Regions from separate parts of the Homo sapiens genome. Here all the other regions are linked to region 1. Evidence: promoter capture Hi-C in 16 types of primary human blood cells and fetal thymus (Javierre and others, 2016). All regions are on one chromosome and are shown on one strand. Each heading gives the region's core, a stretch centred on a gene start or on the middle of the fragment in contact. The rest is flanking DNA. Distances are from core to core; before and after follow the strand shown. Region 1 holds the start of RNF157 (ring finger protein 157). Region 2 has its middle 7.7 kb from the start of EVPL. Region 3 overlaps SRP68 (signal recognition particle 68).

What was found. Contacts are between HindIII fragments. The CHiCAGO score rates a contact against its expected background, and 5 or more counts as called.
Region 2: a contact is called between a fragment that was not itself captured here and the fragment with the promoter of RNF157 in region 1, in 1 of 17 cell types (endothelial precursors). The highest score is 5.1, in endothelial precursors.
Region 3: a fragment that was not itself captured here is called in contact with the fragment with the promoter of RNF157 in region 1 in 1 of 17 cell types (endothelial precursors); the score reaches 5.0 in endothelial precursors.

The regions. Positions count from the first base shown.
Region 1 is chr17:76,236,602-76,241,742 of GRCh38, reverse strand. It overlaps RNF157 (ring finger protein 157), which reads left to right and starts at 1,250. Exons shown (of 19, transcript NM_052916.3): 1 at 1,250-1,590. The coding sequence starts at 1,503. LOC105371896 (a long non-coding RNA gene) reads left to right here. Exons shown (of 6, transcript XR_007065913.1): 6 at 1-881. RefSeq lists silencers at 1,076-1,145, 1,166-1,305 and an enhancer at 1,610-2,282. The HindIII fragment of the contact is 1,725 bases long and covers 389-2,113 here.
Region 2 is chr17:76,032,396-76,037,536 of GRCh38, reverse strand. No RefSeq gene overlaps it. Among named protein-coding and RNA genes, the nearest start is that of EVPL, 7.7 kb to the right of the region's middle. RefSeq lists a silencer at 535-829 and an enhancer at 2,935-3,542. The HindIII fragment of the contact is 7,176 bases long and covers 1-5,141 here.
Region 3 is chr17:76,048,290-76,053,430 of GRCh38, reverse strand. SRP68 (signal recognition particle 68) reads left to right here. Exons shown (of 16, transcript NM_014230.4): 9 at 2,905-3,003. Among named protein-coding and RNA genes, the nearest start is that of SRP68, 22 kb to the left of the region's middle. The HindIII fragment of the contact is 2,312 bases long and covers 1,857-4,168 here.

The DNA of each region.
Region 1 (5,141 bases), core at 1-2,500:
CAGCTACTCGGGAGGCTGAGGCAGGAGAATCCCTTGAACCCAGGAGGCGGAGGTTGCAGTGAGCTGAGATCACGCCACTGCACTCCAGCCTGGGCGACAGAGGGAGACTCCGTCTCAAAACACAGAAAAACAAAAACAAAATATAACCAGGAAAGACCTAGACTCCGTAAAATAGCTTTACAAACCTAATCAAGGGAACCAGACACCCCAAACTGTACTTCGAACACTGTTGAAAAGTTGTGAAAGTCATGTTCTAGCAGTTGAAATGTTTGCTGATCAGTCCACTCTCTCAGGAAAAAAAACACCAGACCCACAAAGAAAATAGAAGGTTTAAAACACAAATGTCTGTAATTAAGCAATGGAATGACGTCTTCCGCCGGCCCAAGCTTCCCACTGTTGTGTGTGTTTTTATCAACAGGAGCTCCCGGTTCTGCCTGGCCCGGTTCGCTTTCGCCTGCGTTGACTCTCTTGGCACTCAGGCCTTTCCAAAGTTTCCGGGGTCCCGTTTCCACGATACAGACAGAGGCTGGATGTCTTGATCTTATCCTCAGTCGATGTTCTCCTAACTTTAGGGCTACAAGGAGCCTTAAACAGCATGTATAGAGTTGGGAGCGCTTTGAATAGACGCACGTGAGAGGGAGGCGGCATCTTCCTAGCCGGTCACCAGCATTAACACGGGGCAGGAGACATGCGAATGCACCGTGGGACCCCTCTCCCTACCCCCCTGCATGAGATTTCCGAAGACCTCCGCCGGCCGACGCTGAGGGGCGGGGTTGGGAAGGCTTCCTCCAGGCGCGGGAGCAGCGGAGCGGGGACCGCCCGCTTTGGGACGCCCAGGACAATGGCGAGCGAGCTCCCGGCCAGTCCTCGCGGACCGCGGGAGGGGGCGGCTCCCTGCGCGGTAATCCGAGCCGGGATAAACAGGCGCGGAGGGGCGACGCGTCCCGGCCGGGTGCAGCGCTCGTCTCCTGGGGTCCCAGCTCCGGCCGGTCCCGCCCCGCCCCGCCGCGGGCACCCGGCCGCGCCCCCGTCCCCGTCGCGAGTCCCCGCCCACGCCCACGCCCCCGCCGCGAGGCCCTGGGCCGCGTCCACGCGCGCCGAGTCCAGCCGCGGCTCCCCGCGCGAGGCACGCGCCGCCGGCTCCTGCTGCAGTCCCGCGCTCATTGGCTGCTCCGGCGCGGGCGCTCCCGCCCCGCCTCGCCATTGGCTGGGGCCGCCGCGGTCCCCGCGCGGAGCGGCCGCTGACATCACGCGGCCTGAGGCGGCGGCGGCGCCCCCGGCCCAGACCCGCAGCCCCCTTGGCAGAGGCGCCGCCGCGGTGCCCGGCGGAGGATGGTGCGCGGCGCGCCGGGGGCTCCCCGCCGCCAGAGCCGCAGCGCCGCAGCGGAGCCGGCCGCGGCGGGCAGTCGGCCCCCGCACCGGGCGCGGGGCGGGCGGCCGCGGTGAAGCGCGGAGGGCGGCGCGGGCACCGGGGCCGGGCCGGGGCTGCAGCCGCAGCGGCCATGGGGGCCCTGACGAGCCGGCAGCACGCGGGCGTGGAGGAGGTGGACATCCCGTCTAATTCCGTGTACCGCTACCCGCCCAAGTCCGGTGAGGGCGGGCGGGCGCCGCAGCCGCGAGGAGGGAGAGGGGCAGGGGCAGGGGTCTGGGTCGGGACGGCCTGAGGGGGCCCCGCGGGTCTTCGGGGACTCAGTGGTTGCGGACGCTCCGAAACGGTCTTCGAGCGCGGGAGGTCTTCGAGAAGGCCGAGGTCTCCCCCGCCCCGGGCGAATTAGCCCAAGGGGCGTCCTGCCGGGTCTAGCAGGGTCACCGAGGGCACCGAGCCCCTCCACGGGAGGACGGGAGCGGCCTCCATTGTAATCGGCCCCGTGACGGGGACGCGTGCCCGCAGGGACCGAGGCTCCTGGGGAGCGGGGCTGCGGCGTCGTAGGCGAGGTCGGCGCCCCGCACGGACCCGGCCGGCCCGGCCCAAAGCCTACCTGCCTCGCGGGGTCCGAGGGCCGCGAGGGAGGCGACCTCGGCATCCAAACAGGCACTTGCGCCAGGTGCTATCCCTGCGCTGCCGTCTCCTGGCCTCTGGAAAGGTTAGAATTAGGTTTCTCCTGGAAAAGCTTCCATTGCCTGCTGAAGGATGGAAGCCAAACAGGCATTTGCAGTGCTGGTGCTTTTGCAGAGGCTGTCAGAAGCCGGGGGGTGGGGGGGGTGGTGGTGGTGGAAAGTAACAGAAATGTTTGGGAATCTGAGTATCAGAGTTACTCGGATTGCCCCTTTGCTAGCGTAGTGGCAAGCCTGGGTTTTGGAGTGGGACCAGCTCTGGGACAGGGCAGAGGTATTGGAAACGTATAGAAGTATGTTTGTTATTAGAATCATCCCTTCACTTAAATGTCTCTAGCCTCTGGATTGTGGTATCAGCATTGGAGGTGGAGGAGGATTTTGACAGCAAAGCAGAGAATCACAAGGTAGTTCAGTTATGTGAGCACCGGCCAGTATGAATTGCATGACCTAGCCGGTGTTTACTTTTAATTGCAAGTAGTTTTATTTTAATTAATTACTTTTAATTTTATTCTCAAGACTTCTGAGGATGAATGGCTGCGACATTCTGTCTGCTTAGGACCCGATGGAGATTTTGGTGATTTCGGAATGAGGTGTCAGAATTGGAGCAGAGCCTCGTCTCTTTTTGGTAGAATAGAGACATACTGAGATGAGCTGGTTTCTCAGCAGTGTGTCCAGTGTCTGCCAGGTGAAAGCAGGGGCCAGACGATGAACCTGCCCGCATCCCTGCAGAGTGTCTGCCAGAGCTGTGTTTCTCACTGCTTTTGTACCAAAGAATGAATCCTTGCAAAGATGAATATGGTGAAGAATTGTTTTAGAAAGGTCTAAGATAAAGCTGTGGGTCGTTAGTATTTTAATAAAGCTCTGACTGATTATGACTACATAAAATCAACGCTAACCAAGGCATAGATTTTGTTTTTTAATAGACAAAAATATTCTTAGGGCGGCATGAGGAAAACTTTTTAAAATAGACAAAAATATGCAGCAGTATTTGTGGGCTCTGTTTTTCTTAAACCACATGGCTTTTATTGATCAAAATATGGAGCATACTTTGCTGAGCTTGGAATTTTCAATAGTGTTTGCTGCCTCAGGAAAGTATTCACCGCTCTTTCATATGTGGGACTTAACATAGGTAAACCTCTGGAAGGCTGTTCCCCAAAGCATATTTGTACAAGTATGAATCTTGGGTGATGATAATAAAAAGACAATAGACCAAACCAAAACTTTTGTTAATTAGCACACTCAATAAATAATCCTCTCCTCTCTACCAGTTTTAAAAGTTTAACTGTAAAACTGTAATTCATGTTAAATCAGAAGTTATACATGAGAGAAGTCTTTATAGCAAGTGGACCACATTATTTCTGTTGAAGCTAAAACATAGAAAATAGAATCAGAACATCCTGTCTCTGTCAGCAAACCTTTGTGTATTTGAAACCTTATGTGAGCTTGCATATATGCTCTAGACGGAGGCATCGCCTTTCTTCTGATCTTTGAATTGACCTGGCTCTTTATGGGATTACAGTATTAGTCCTGAAAGGAACCGTTGACAGAGTTTGGCCATGACCACCATGCCTAGCTAATGTTTAATTTTTTTTTTTTTTTTTTGAGTCATCGTCTCTCTCTGTCACGCCCAGGCTGGAATGAAGTGGTGCAATATTGGCTTACTGCAACCTCTGCCTCTAGGGTTCAAGCAATTCTCCCGCCTCAGTCTCCCAAGTAGCTGGGATTACAGGTGTTTGCCACCACACCCGGCTAATTGTTTGTATTTTTAGTGGAGATGGGGTTTCACCATATTGGCCAGGCAAGTCTTGAACTCCTGACCTCTCAGGTGATCCGCCTGCCTCGGCCTCCCAAAGTGCTGGGATTACGGGTGTGAGCTACCACGCCCAGGCAAGTTTTTTGTAGAGACACTCTCTCACTATGTTGCCCAGGCTGGTCTTGAACTCGTGGTCTCAAGCAATCCTCCCGCCTTGGCCTCCCATTCATTTCACTGATAAGAAAATGGAGACCCAGAGAAATGAATTGGTATGGCCAGGGTCTCTCAGCCAGTTAGTGTTCTTCCTACTATACTGTCTGCCTCCACCTCTCAAGGAATTGGGTTTTGAACTTGTACTCAAAAAACAAGACTTAAAACAATCATTCCATGATTATGGAATGAAGGCTATTTCGTGTCATAATTGAAGTCCCTATAGAGGAATCAACCTGGGTTGATTTTGAGAAGTCTCCTTATCCTGAGTACTAACAGTGGAACAAAGCAAGTGGCAGAGTCAGCTTTCTCCAGATGACATACCTTGTAGTTTGAGTGTTAAGTTGAGACCACTATCTGGCTCGCTGGAAAGCGGCTAGACCTGCACTGCCGGTGGAACAGTTGTTTCGGAAAGAAGCACCATCATCTGTCCTTGTAATGACGGTCACAGTGTCCAGCTGAAATTGCTTTTTTCTTAGTATATTTAATGGAACTTCTTAGTTTTGTATGCACATTGAAACAAACATTTAAATCCTATCAAGAATGGCAGATTTCAAGTTGAGACTTGGGTTTGTAGCTTTTTTCTATCCTTAAATAGAGGTAGATAGAAATAAATAGCCTAAATTATTTAGAATTATTTATTTTTGAATAGGTAATATAGTCACACGGTTCAAACTTTAAAAGAATGAAAACGTGTACAGTGAAAGCCTTGTTCTCACCGCTGTTGTCCATCCACCTGGTTCTCCTTCCTCCCTCTAAACCTCCCATCCCATGTAACCACTTTTGGTTTCTTTGGAATTCTTTTAGAGTTTCTTGTGTAAATGCAAGCATAGCATGCTATTAGACTGTTCTACACCTTGCTCTGTTTGCTTTCAGAGATATTGGAGATCTTTTTATATTGTCTCATATTTGATAAGTTTCTTTGTGCTTTTTAACAACTATATAGTATTCCTCTGCATGCATATGCCATCTTTTTTTTTACATAGTCTCCTGTTGATAAACATCTGTGAGTTGTTTTTTCAGTATCTTACTATTGCAAACAGTGCAACAATGAATAATGTTATGCATTAGGTGATTTTTAGATTTATTAATAATTGTGTGAATATTAATCATTTAAGTAATA
Region 2 (5,141 bases), core at 1,881-4,380, 210 kb after region 1:
GCACTTTGAGAGGCCAAGGCAGGCAGATCACTTGAGGCCAGAAGTTCGAGACCAGCCTGGGCAACATGGTGAGACCTTGTCTCTACCAAAAAAACTTTTTTAAAAGAAAAATATATATAGCACAGATGACTGGTCTCAGGTTGAGGTCCTGGGTTTTGATCAGGTCAGCGTCCCTGCGGGCTGAGGAACCACGATTTGGGGGTTAGGGGGTCTTCATCCATGTCCTCATCCTCCTCCCAGGGCCATGGGCCAAGATTCTGCACCTCCCTTGTCTCGTCTCTGTGCTGACAGCCACGCTGTCCTCCAGCTCCAAGAACCCAATTGCAGGCCCTGCTGTGCTGCAGTCTCAGGCCGTTGCCTGCAGCATCGTGAGGGGGACGGGCATGGGGAACCGCTCATCCTCCTGGAAGATGTCCCTTTGTCCTTCCCACAGCCCTCCCAGCCCCTCCCACTCTAGAGTGCTGGCCTCAGTGGGGACCCAGGACCTATAAACTAGAGATGGAGGCGAATCCCAACTGCACCTTTTCCTTCTCAGGTTGCCTAATGCTTTGTCTCGCGGCCACACTACAAATTCCATTCCTCCCGGTGCTCCTGCCAGGCGCTCTGAGCAGCATTGGCTGTTAACGGCCAGTGATGCTGTTTAGTATTAAAAGCAGGTGTTTACATAAGAAGACAGATCTGGCAGGGCCAAGGTCTCCGGCGAGCTTGCACATCCCTTCACATGGGATTCCTGGACATTAAGCAGGCTGTGTCGTGGGGGACAGAGCGCCAGATGCAGGACCCCCTCCTGTCCTCAGGCCCTGGGAAGTGGCTCTGCCTCTGATGGGAGCAGGTTTCAAGTCAGGCCCTCACTGCCCCTGGGCCCTGCAGGCTGTTCGCTGGGGGTTTTCACAAAAAGACACTTCGGAGGCCACACAGTCCTGCCTTCCCACGGGGCAGGACATGCAGATGAGGCCCCGGGGGCCGCGAATGGGTCTGTTCCAAGTGGGTGTTCCCGTGTTGTGCTGGCTCCAGTCCCTCCTCCAGGATGGACTCTGGTGCTGTCAGCAAGCTCTGACCCTGGAGGAGGCTTCTGTCTCCAACATCAAGAGAGGACGAAGAGAGCTCCATTCAGTCCCCTTATACTTTTATTTATTTATTTATTTAGAGACAGTCTCACTCTTGTCACCCAGGCTGGAGTGCAGTGGCACGATCTCAGCTCACTGCAGCCTCCGCCTCCCAGGTTCAAGCGATTCTCCTGCCTCAATCTCCCAAGTAGCTGGGACTACAGGTGCGTGCCATCATGCCCAGCTAATATTTGTATTTTTAGTAGAGGCGGAGTTTCACCGTGTTGGGCAGGCTGGTCTCGAACTCCTGGCCTCAAGTGATCCACCTGCCTCGACCTCCCAAAGTGCTGGGATTACAGGCATGAGTCACCACGCCTGGCCCGGTCTCATACTTTTAAAGCCTGCCCTAGGTCTGCTGTGGATGTGGTCGTGGTCGTGGTTTCTGTCCTTTTTTTTTTTTTTTTTTTTTTTTTTTGAGATGGAGTCTCGCTCTGTCGCCTAGGCTGGAGTGCAGTGGTGTAATCTCGGCTCACTCCACCTCCCAGGTTCAAGCAATTCTCCTGCCTCAGCCTCCCGAGTAGCTGGGATTACAGGTGGCCACCACCACGCCCAGCTAATTTTTGTATTTTTAGTAGAGATGGGGATTTCACCATTTTGGCCAGGTTGGTCTCAAACTCCTGACCTCATGATCTACCCGCCTCAGCCTCCCAAAGTGCTGGGATTACAGGCATGAGCCACCGCACCTGGGCTTTTCTTTTTTTGAGATGGAGTCTGACACTGTCGCCCGGGCTGGAGAGCAGTGGTGTGATCTTGGCTGACTGCAACCTCCGCCTCCCATTCAAGCGATTCTCCTGCCTCAGCCTTCCGAGTAGCTGGGATTACAGACATGCGCCACCACGCCTAGCTAATTTTTTGTATTTTTAGTAGAGATGGGGTTTTACTCTATTGGCCAGGTTGGTCTCAAATGCCTGACCTCGTGATCCACCCGCCTCAGCCTCCCAAGGTGCTGGGATTACAGGCGTCAGCCACCACGCCTGGCCTATGTGATCATAGTTTCTATTCTCTGTTCCAGGCAAGCCCCACCAGGCCTGCTGGGTGAGGGTCAGGAGCACGAGGTGGCTGAGGATGGCACTGGCCTTTGCTGCTGGGTCTCCTGGCCTGTTCCTCTCTTCCCGAATGTTGTTTGGATTTGCTGTCTCCTCTCTGGTTTTACATTAAATCAGTGAGAACTCTTGGATTCCCTCTTTGAAATGAAACGGTGCTGGGCTTGGTTCCGACCCCTTCCCCTGGTGGCAACCTGAGCCTGTCACCACAAGCACAAGGTGACAGCCTGTGATGACAGGCCATCCTCAACCCATAGCGGCTCTGGGCCAGAGCCAGGACTTTCCTCCCAAAAGCTGAGGCAGAGGCTTCACCCCCTCTAGGAGAGGAAGGCCAACGCCAGGGGCTTTGAGGGTGGGACTGTGCTCTGTTCACTGTCATCGCTGTGGCAGCGCTAATTTTTCACATACGAGGTGTCGTTAGTCACACACAAAAAAGCCAACTGATCACAGAATTCTAAACAGCACAATTCTGTCTGCAGCCTTGAAAAGCCTGGGACATTTAGAGGTCTAGGAAAATATCCAAAGATAGCAAAAATATGTGTTGGTTCTAATTTTTTGTTTGAAGACAGTTGTTGCTACAGAGGAGATGGAAAGCAGATTTAGCTGTAAAATTTATCGATGTTCCAAAGCAAAGAGAATAAATTGGAAATTGCCTGCATCCTGACAACACCAACTGGAAGAATCCAACCTGTTATTCTGTTAGATGTTAGAGACACTTGGGAGGAGGACCTGGGAGGGGCTGTGGCTGGGGGCACCGCCCAGGGCCAGCTGGGGTGGCAGGCTGTGCGGGTTGCACACAGTAGATAGGCCCTGGCCTCTGGGTCCACCCTCTGCTCTGAGCACCATCTGGCACAGAGTGAGGGGCTCTACAAGCATCCAGTAGAAGTATTATTATTATTATTATTCCAAGATGAGGTTTCACTCTTGTTGCCCACACTGGAGTGCAATGGCACGATCTCAGCTTACTGCAACCTCTGCCTCCCGGGTTCAAGTGATTCTCCTGCCTCAGCCTCCTGAGTAGCTGGGATTACAGGCATGTGCCACCATGCTCAGCTAATTTTTGTATTTTTAGTAGAGACGAGGTTTCACCAAGTTGGATAGGCTGGTCTCGAACTCCTGACCTCAGGTGATCCGCAGCTTCGGCCCCCCAAAGTGCTTCCCCAGGGATCTTCTGACCTAGCAATCCAGCTATGACGGGCAGGTACCTGGGCCAGTGAAAGCTGAGTAACGTTAGCTGCGGCTCATCTGTGGAATGGAGACAGACGTGGCTGTGCAAAGGCCTCACCAGGCAGTGCCTCCCATGCTGCCTAAGAAGAGGTGTGAGGCAGAGAGAGCAGGTGCCCAGGGTCCTCCGAGCTCCTGGATCCCTGCCCCACACTGACTAGTCCATTGCCTCTGAGCACACTCCAGCTCCTGTACAACAGGGGCGGCTGCGTCTCAAAGTTGCTGGGAGGAGACAGTGAGGAGGTTCCCCCAAAATGTTCTGAGCCCAGACCCCAAGACAGTGTGGGCTGCTGTACCCTGAGTCGATGGGTACACATAGCTGAGAGAGCCTTCCACTCAGCCAGCCTGCGTCCTTGTCTTCCCCTTCCCAGGAAGTCCTCCTAAGTCTATGCAATGCCATTCAGACAATAGTTTGGGTCTGACTAGCTGCTGTCTGTGCTGGGTGGTTTAACCTCCCCTTTCCAGCTTCCTGACAATAGAGACAAATCAGGCAGCTATGAGAACTTCTTGTTCCTTCGTTTTCATGTTTGTCTGTTTTATAAACCTTTTTCTCCCTCTGAACAGTGAACAGTGCCAGATGCCACCAGACCCCTGCTGCTGTGGTGCAGCCGGTGGGACATTTTCTCAAGCGGCAACGCAGGTCATTATCTTGGCATGGACAGTTAGCTGGCTGCCTCCGTCACATCCGCACTTCTCCAAAATAGGGCTGCAGGTCCCCGGACCTAGCTAGTAAGGACAGCTATTATCTTAAAGGTGGCAGAGAGGCCCAGAGCCCTTGGGCCTACCAGTTCCTGAGTAAGACTGGCTGGGCTGCAGACTTCTGGAATGCAGGGATGGCTCATGCACGAGATGGCTGCAGGGGCTGGGGAGTGGGCTGCACCAGCATCAGTCCTACAGCTGAACTGGGGCTGGTGCTGTGGGTCCCCTTTCTCCCAGGGAAAGGGGATGGTTCAGAGGGAGGGACAGATACCCTAAGGCAGCCTTGGTTTTGAGGATTCCAGGGGTTCCCTCTATGTTCTCTTTCTTGCCATTTAGTATGAGGAATCCTGCCTGCTCTCTTAACACACACAAGATTTGGTTGTTTTCTGTTTTTTGGAGTTTTGGTAGTTGCTTCCTCTAAACCTTCCCCGTAAAAGTCCCAAAAGGAATCACTAGCACCTGTTCCTCCCCACTCTTGTCTGGTTAGGCAAGCTGTACCACCTTTTGCTTCTCTCTAGGCTGACCTTGGCATTTCAGTTCTTTTTATCGGACTTGCCAGGCAGACTCACAGCCAAAAGAGCCTCCTCCTGGTGGCCCTGCAGATTCCTGGGCCACAGCCTCTACCCGCCAATCCTATACCTGTAGACAACGGAAGGAGGCTGGTCCCTTGAACCCCCAGTCCGCCAGACTGTGCTCCTCTAGGCCCAGCTGGAGGAGGGTGCCTCTGCTTTGCTCAGTGGGCGAAGGGAGTGAAGGGAAGAGGTCATTACTCAACTTCGGTCCAAGGGTCTGGCAGCGGAGCTTTTGTACAAACAGGGCAATTTCCTGAGACGGCAAAGCCTCGCCTCATCAGGAACACATGGGCGCCTGGTAGCTTACGGCTCCCGGGACAAAGGAGGCAATTACCACCATCTGCCTCAGCAGGGAGAAGAATGCCTCCCCACAGGAGCCCGGAGCTGGAGGAGAGAGTGGGCACCAGAGGGCTTAACTGCTGGCACACATGCCAAGTGGCCACCCTGTGGCCGGGCTGCACATATGCCCAGCTGTGTCTGGCAGTCTTGGAGCCGAG
Region 3 (5,141 bases), core at 1,763-4,262, 190 kb after region 1:
TTTTCTTGAACGCCGGTTGCTCCAACCACTTAACCCCACTTGTCTGAGAAGGGTGTTGGCATGTTTGTTGGATTGCATGGAATTAAAACGGGCGCCGTAGCTCTTCCTTTCTGCTGAGAATGTGGCTGTGGTATATGTGTGTTTCTTTTTTTTTTTTTTTTTTTTGAGACAGGGTCTCACCCTGTCACCCAGGCCAAAGTGCAGTGGCACAATCTCAGCTCACTGCAACCTCCACCTCCTGGTCTCAGTTGGTCCTCCCACCTTTGCCTCCTGGAATAGCTGGGACCACAGGCATGCACCACCACACCTGGCTAATTTTTTTTGCATTTTTTGTAGACATGGGGTTTTGTCATGTTGCCCAGGCTGGTCTCAAACTCCTGGACTCAAGTGATCTGCCCACATCTGCCTCCCAAAGTGCTGGGATTACAGGCGTGAGCCACCGCGTCCGACGCCATGTGTGTTTCTTAAGTAGTGGTGCCAAGTCCATTCACATGTCTTTTTTTTTTTTTTTTTAAGTTCTGGGATACATGTGCAGAACATGCAGGTTTGTTATATAGGTATATATGTGCCATGGTGGTTTGCTGCACCTATCAACTCATCATCTAGGGATTTTTTTTTTTTTTTTTTGAGATGGAGTCTGGCTCTGTCGCCCAGGCTGGAGTGCAGTGGCGCGATCTCGGCTCACTGAAACCTCCGCCTCCCGGGTTCACGCCATTCTCCTGCCTCAGCCTCCCTAGTAGCTGGGACTACAGGTGCCCACCACCATGCCCAGCTAATTTTTTGTATTTTTAGTAGAGACGGGGTTTCATCGTGTTAGCCAGGATGGTCTCGATCTCCTGAGCTCGTGATCCGCCCGCCTCAGCCTCCCAAAGTGCTGGGATTACAGGCGTGAGCCACCGCGCCCAGCCCATCATCTAGGTTTTAAGCCCTGTGTGCATTAGGTATTTGTCCTAATACTTTCCCTCCCCTTGCCTCCCACCCCCTGCCATTCACATGTCTTACTCGAGTTTTTAAGCACTCTAGACTTATGTATCTTATTCCAGTTGCTGAGTATTATATGGCGGCACCATTCCACAGATTTGTACTTTGAAAAATTAGGCCAGTAAGGTTGACGAAGTGATTCTAAAGAATCTTGCCAACCTGGGGTCGGCCAACAATATTCTATAAAGCATGTGCTCCAGTGCTGCACTGTCCAGTGCAGTAGCCGCTCAACACATGTGGTTATTGAAATTTAAATTAATAAAACTTCCAGCCAGGCTCTGTGGCTCCTGCCTGTAACCCCAGCACTTTGGGAGGCCAAGACAGGTGGATCACCTGAGGTCAGGAGTTCGAGACCAGCCTGGCCAACATGGTGAAATAGCCAGGCGTGGTGGCGGGCACCTGTAGTCCCAGCTACTCCGGAGGCTGAGGCAGGAGAATCTCATGAACCCAGGAGGCGGTGGTTACAGTGAGACGAGATCACGGCACTATACTCCAGCCTGGGTAGCAGAGCAAGACTCTGTCTCAAAAACATAAAATAATAAAAAGATAGATAAATTAATAAAACTTCCGAGTGCTCAGGTGTTCATTGGACGGTGCACGTAGAGGACATTGCCCGTGGCAGAGAGTTCTATTGGATGGTGCTGCTCTGGTGGTTCCAGGAGTGAATGGTGGCCGTGTTTGCTTTACTAGATTTATAGCATGAATGAGCCCCAGTTCGTTCCCAAGTTAGTGAACAACAGGAAAGTCAAGTAACTTATAAGTGGAAAAGTATGTTTGATTTGTATTGGGTAAGTTACAAGGAAGATTTTTTTTTTCACACTGGAGACTAAGAAAAGAGAAGAAATAGATTCTTAAGAGAACTTTTAAGAAAAGCTTTCTTAAGAGAAGAAAAAGGGTTTTTCTTTAAGCCCCTGTTCCCCCAACCATCTCTTAAAGGGGTGGGCAGCACTGGGTTTTCGTTTGAGCTTTCTTAGAGGTCAGTTGAATATTAACACATTTTTTCAGATTGAGTGTTAATTTCTATGGGAAGTCAAATACCATAATGGAATGTTGATGTTTTAATTTCACAGTGGGTCTGCCAGTCACACAGGTTCATCCCCTTTCTGCCTTTTGTCCATTTCTATCTGCTCGGTCAGATTCTTTGGGACGATAATGTGGCTTGGCAGGTATTCAGTTAGTGAATCACTTTCTCACTTACCCTAGCTGTGTAGCAGACAGGTGACACCCAGTACTTGTGCAAAGACTGTCGTCTCATGCGTGTCAACCTTGTATGTCCTAAAAATTGTTCTCAGAGTAGTCATGTGGAATATCTGAGTGCAGCACGTCTGTGGCGAAAAGAACTTAGTGTGATATTTAGGAGAACTGTCTTTTTGGTGGGTATTGATTAGTCTTTTTTATTATTTCCTTGTACCTAAAAGAAACAATCTTTGAGTTGGGTCACATTTGTAAAAGGTAATTGTGTTGGCATACAGTAGAGCTTGACAAGTTTGTTCTGGAAGGAAAAGATAAGGAAAGTTCTGGTGTGCTGTGCTTCAGTGTAGAGTGTCCCAAGTCCAGTCTGTAAGGCCCCTCAAGGGGTGCCAGGTCCTGAGCAGAGGGTGAAGCGCTGCAGGGAAGTAGCAGGAAGCTGTGCTGGGAAGAGACGTAAAGCCTTTGCTAAGTCTCAGATCAGTTATGCAGACAGCTTTTTCAGCATGTTTGCTTTTAAAAATAGAACTCCCCTTTCCATATGAATAATGAATGACTAAGGCTATGAGAAACCATTATATGGTAGAGAACAGTAACAATTAAAATGATATCTGGTGTGGCGTGCGTGAGTGAGTGTGTGGTTGGGGGACTCCATGTGCGATTTTGCTCCTCTCCCATTAGGTGACTATGGTTTGCTCAAAGGAAAGTCTCTTACTTTGATCTGCCCTTGTTTAGGCTGAAAGCGAAGAAACTAAGGAGCGCCTGTTTGAATCAATGCTCAGCGAGTGTCGGGACGCCATCCAGGTGGTTCGGGAGGAGCTCAAGCCAGATCAGGTAGGACCCTCAGCCGAGCCCTGGTTCTTGCTCTGGGCGGGTCCAGGTCAGCCTGTGTCCCCTTCTCAGGTGGACCCCAGTGCTCTGAGTGCACTGCTCGCTTGGCCACTGTTTCGTTTTTGTTTTTTTGAGGTGAGGTCGTAAGGGAGCAAACAAGGGCCTCTGGGCTCCATCACATTGAGAAATTAATTTCTCCCTCCCCTGTTCCTCCTAATGGTTTCCTATATGGCCTGTGAAGCCTGTGGCCTCCAATTCTGTCTCCAGGTGGACTTCTCCAGTGCCTCCCTTTTCTGAAAACACTATCCCTGTGGTTGATTCAGGCATCTAGGCTGAAAACCTCAGATCTATTTGTCTCTTTTGTCCCTGTCACCAAACCCACCTTCTTCTCCCTTTGCAGGGCCTCTTGCCTATTGTTGCTTCACCTGTTTCTATTAGCCTTTTCTCGTGTGCCTAGGCAACCGCAAAGGTCTCCTAATTGCTTCTTCTGGCTTGGTCTCGGTTCCCTTCTCCAGGCCTTTCTTTCGCAAAGTACAAATGGAATCTTTCTAAATCTAGTTTCCCTGTCTAATTTTAAAAAGCCCAGTGATTTCCTCTAGGGATTGAGCAATGGCCTCCAAACTTTTATGCTGATAAACCCCATAGGCAGCATTGAGCCTGCACCACTGATGCATTTATTTATGAATTATATAGCTTATTATTTGACTAATTTGTCATATATAAACTGCATTAAAATAAGGGCTTTTTTGAATGAGATAAATAGAAATAGAAATTCTAATTTTCGTTTCATACCCAGACTCCCTGGGTTTTATGCGCCCTACTTAGAGACCACTGGCCTCTCAGTTCAGACTTGAGCTGGTGTACAAGCCTTCCTTAGTCTGTTCCCAGCCTTGTACTTCACTGCATCCTTCTGAGTCCTCTGCCTCAAGCTGTTCCACTTACTGGCATCTCAGTAATGCCTTTCCCACCCCGTGTGTTACACTGTTCTCATTCCCCTCCCTCCGCACACTTGGGTAATCTTTCCTGCCCCTCTTCACCTGTCCAAACCCCATCTGTTTTTCAAGGTCCAGCTCATAGCTTACCATTTCTGAAAAGCATATGCCTGCACCATCCTAGCCCACAGAGATCTCTGCAGTTTCTAAATATCTGATACTTGCAGCTATAAGCTTTGATAGTTAATTAAGTATTACCTCTTCATAAAAACTTTATTGTGGTAAAAAACGTTAAACATAAAACCTTAACCATTTTTAAGTGTATGGTTCAGTGGTAATTAAATGCATTCATAACGTACAACCATCACCAACAGTCCATCTCCAGAACTCTCTGCATTTTGTAAAACTGAAACGCTGAACCCATTAAACAACAATAACTTCGTTGCCTAGCAACTATTTTTTTTTCAGCATCTGCCACAAAGCCTTGAGTATAAACTTTGTTTTGAATCACTGCTTTCTCTAAGGAGTCACCTGCTTCCTTGCCCCGTTAGGCTGCCTTTATGTATTGTGCTTCCCTTCATCGACTTAACAGAGGTGCCTACAGAGTCCCAGCCCCTGTCACTGTCATTCACCTTGAATGCATAGCAGTTGGGAGACACCTCACAGAATGTAAGGAATGTGATGCCGCAAAGGCGCATTCATTTCCTGTTGCTGCGATCATATTAACCACAAACTTGATGGTTTAAGATGATCCAAATGTATTATCTTACGCTTCTCGAGGTCAGAAATCTAGTGGGTTCACAGGGCTGTGTTCCTTTAGAAACCCTAGGGGAATCCTTTTCCAGTATTCCCAAGAATGCATCTCCTGGCTTCTAGCGGCTGCCTGTAGTCCTTGGCTTGTGGCTCTCCGTTTGTGCTTCAAAGCGATCAGCTCCTCTCCCCTCTGCTTCCGTTCCTTCATCTTCTGCATCTCTGACCCATCTGCCTCCCTCTTCTCAGGACCCTGGGATGACATTGGACCCACCCAGATAATTCAGAGATCCCTAATTTAATCACATCTGTAGAGTCTCTTTTACCATATATGGTAACATCTTCCCAGATTGCACGGAGGCTAGCATATAGACAGCTCTGGCGTATGTTATTCGGCCAGCCACAAAAGGCACACTCTGACAGCACAAGGGGTGGAACTGGGATCTGTGGCACAGACCT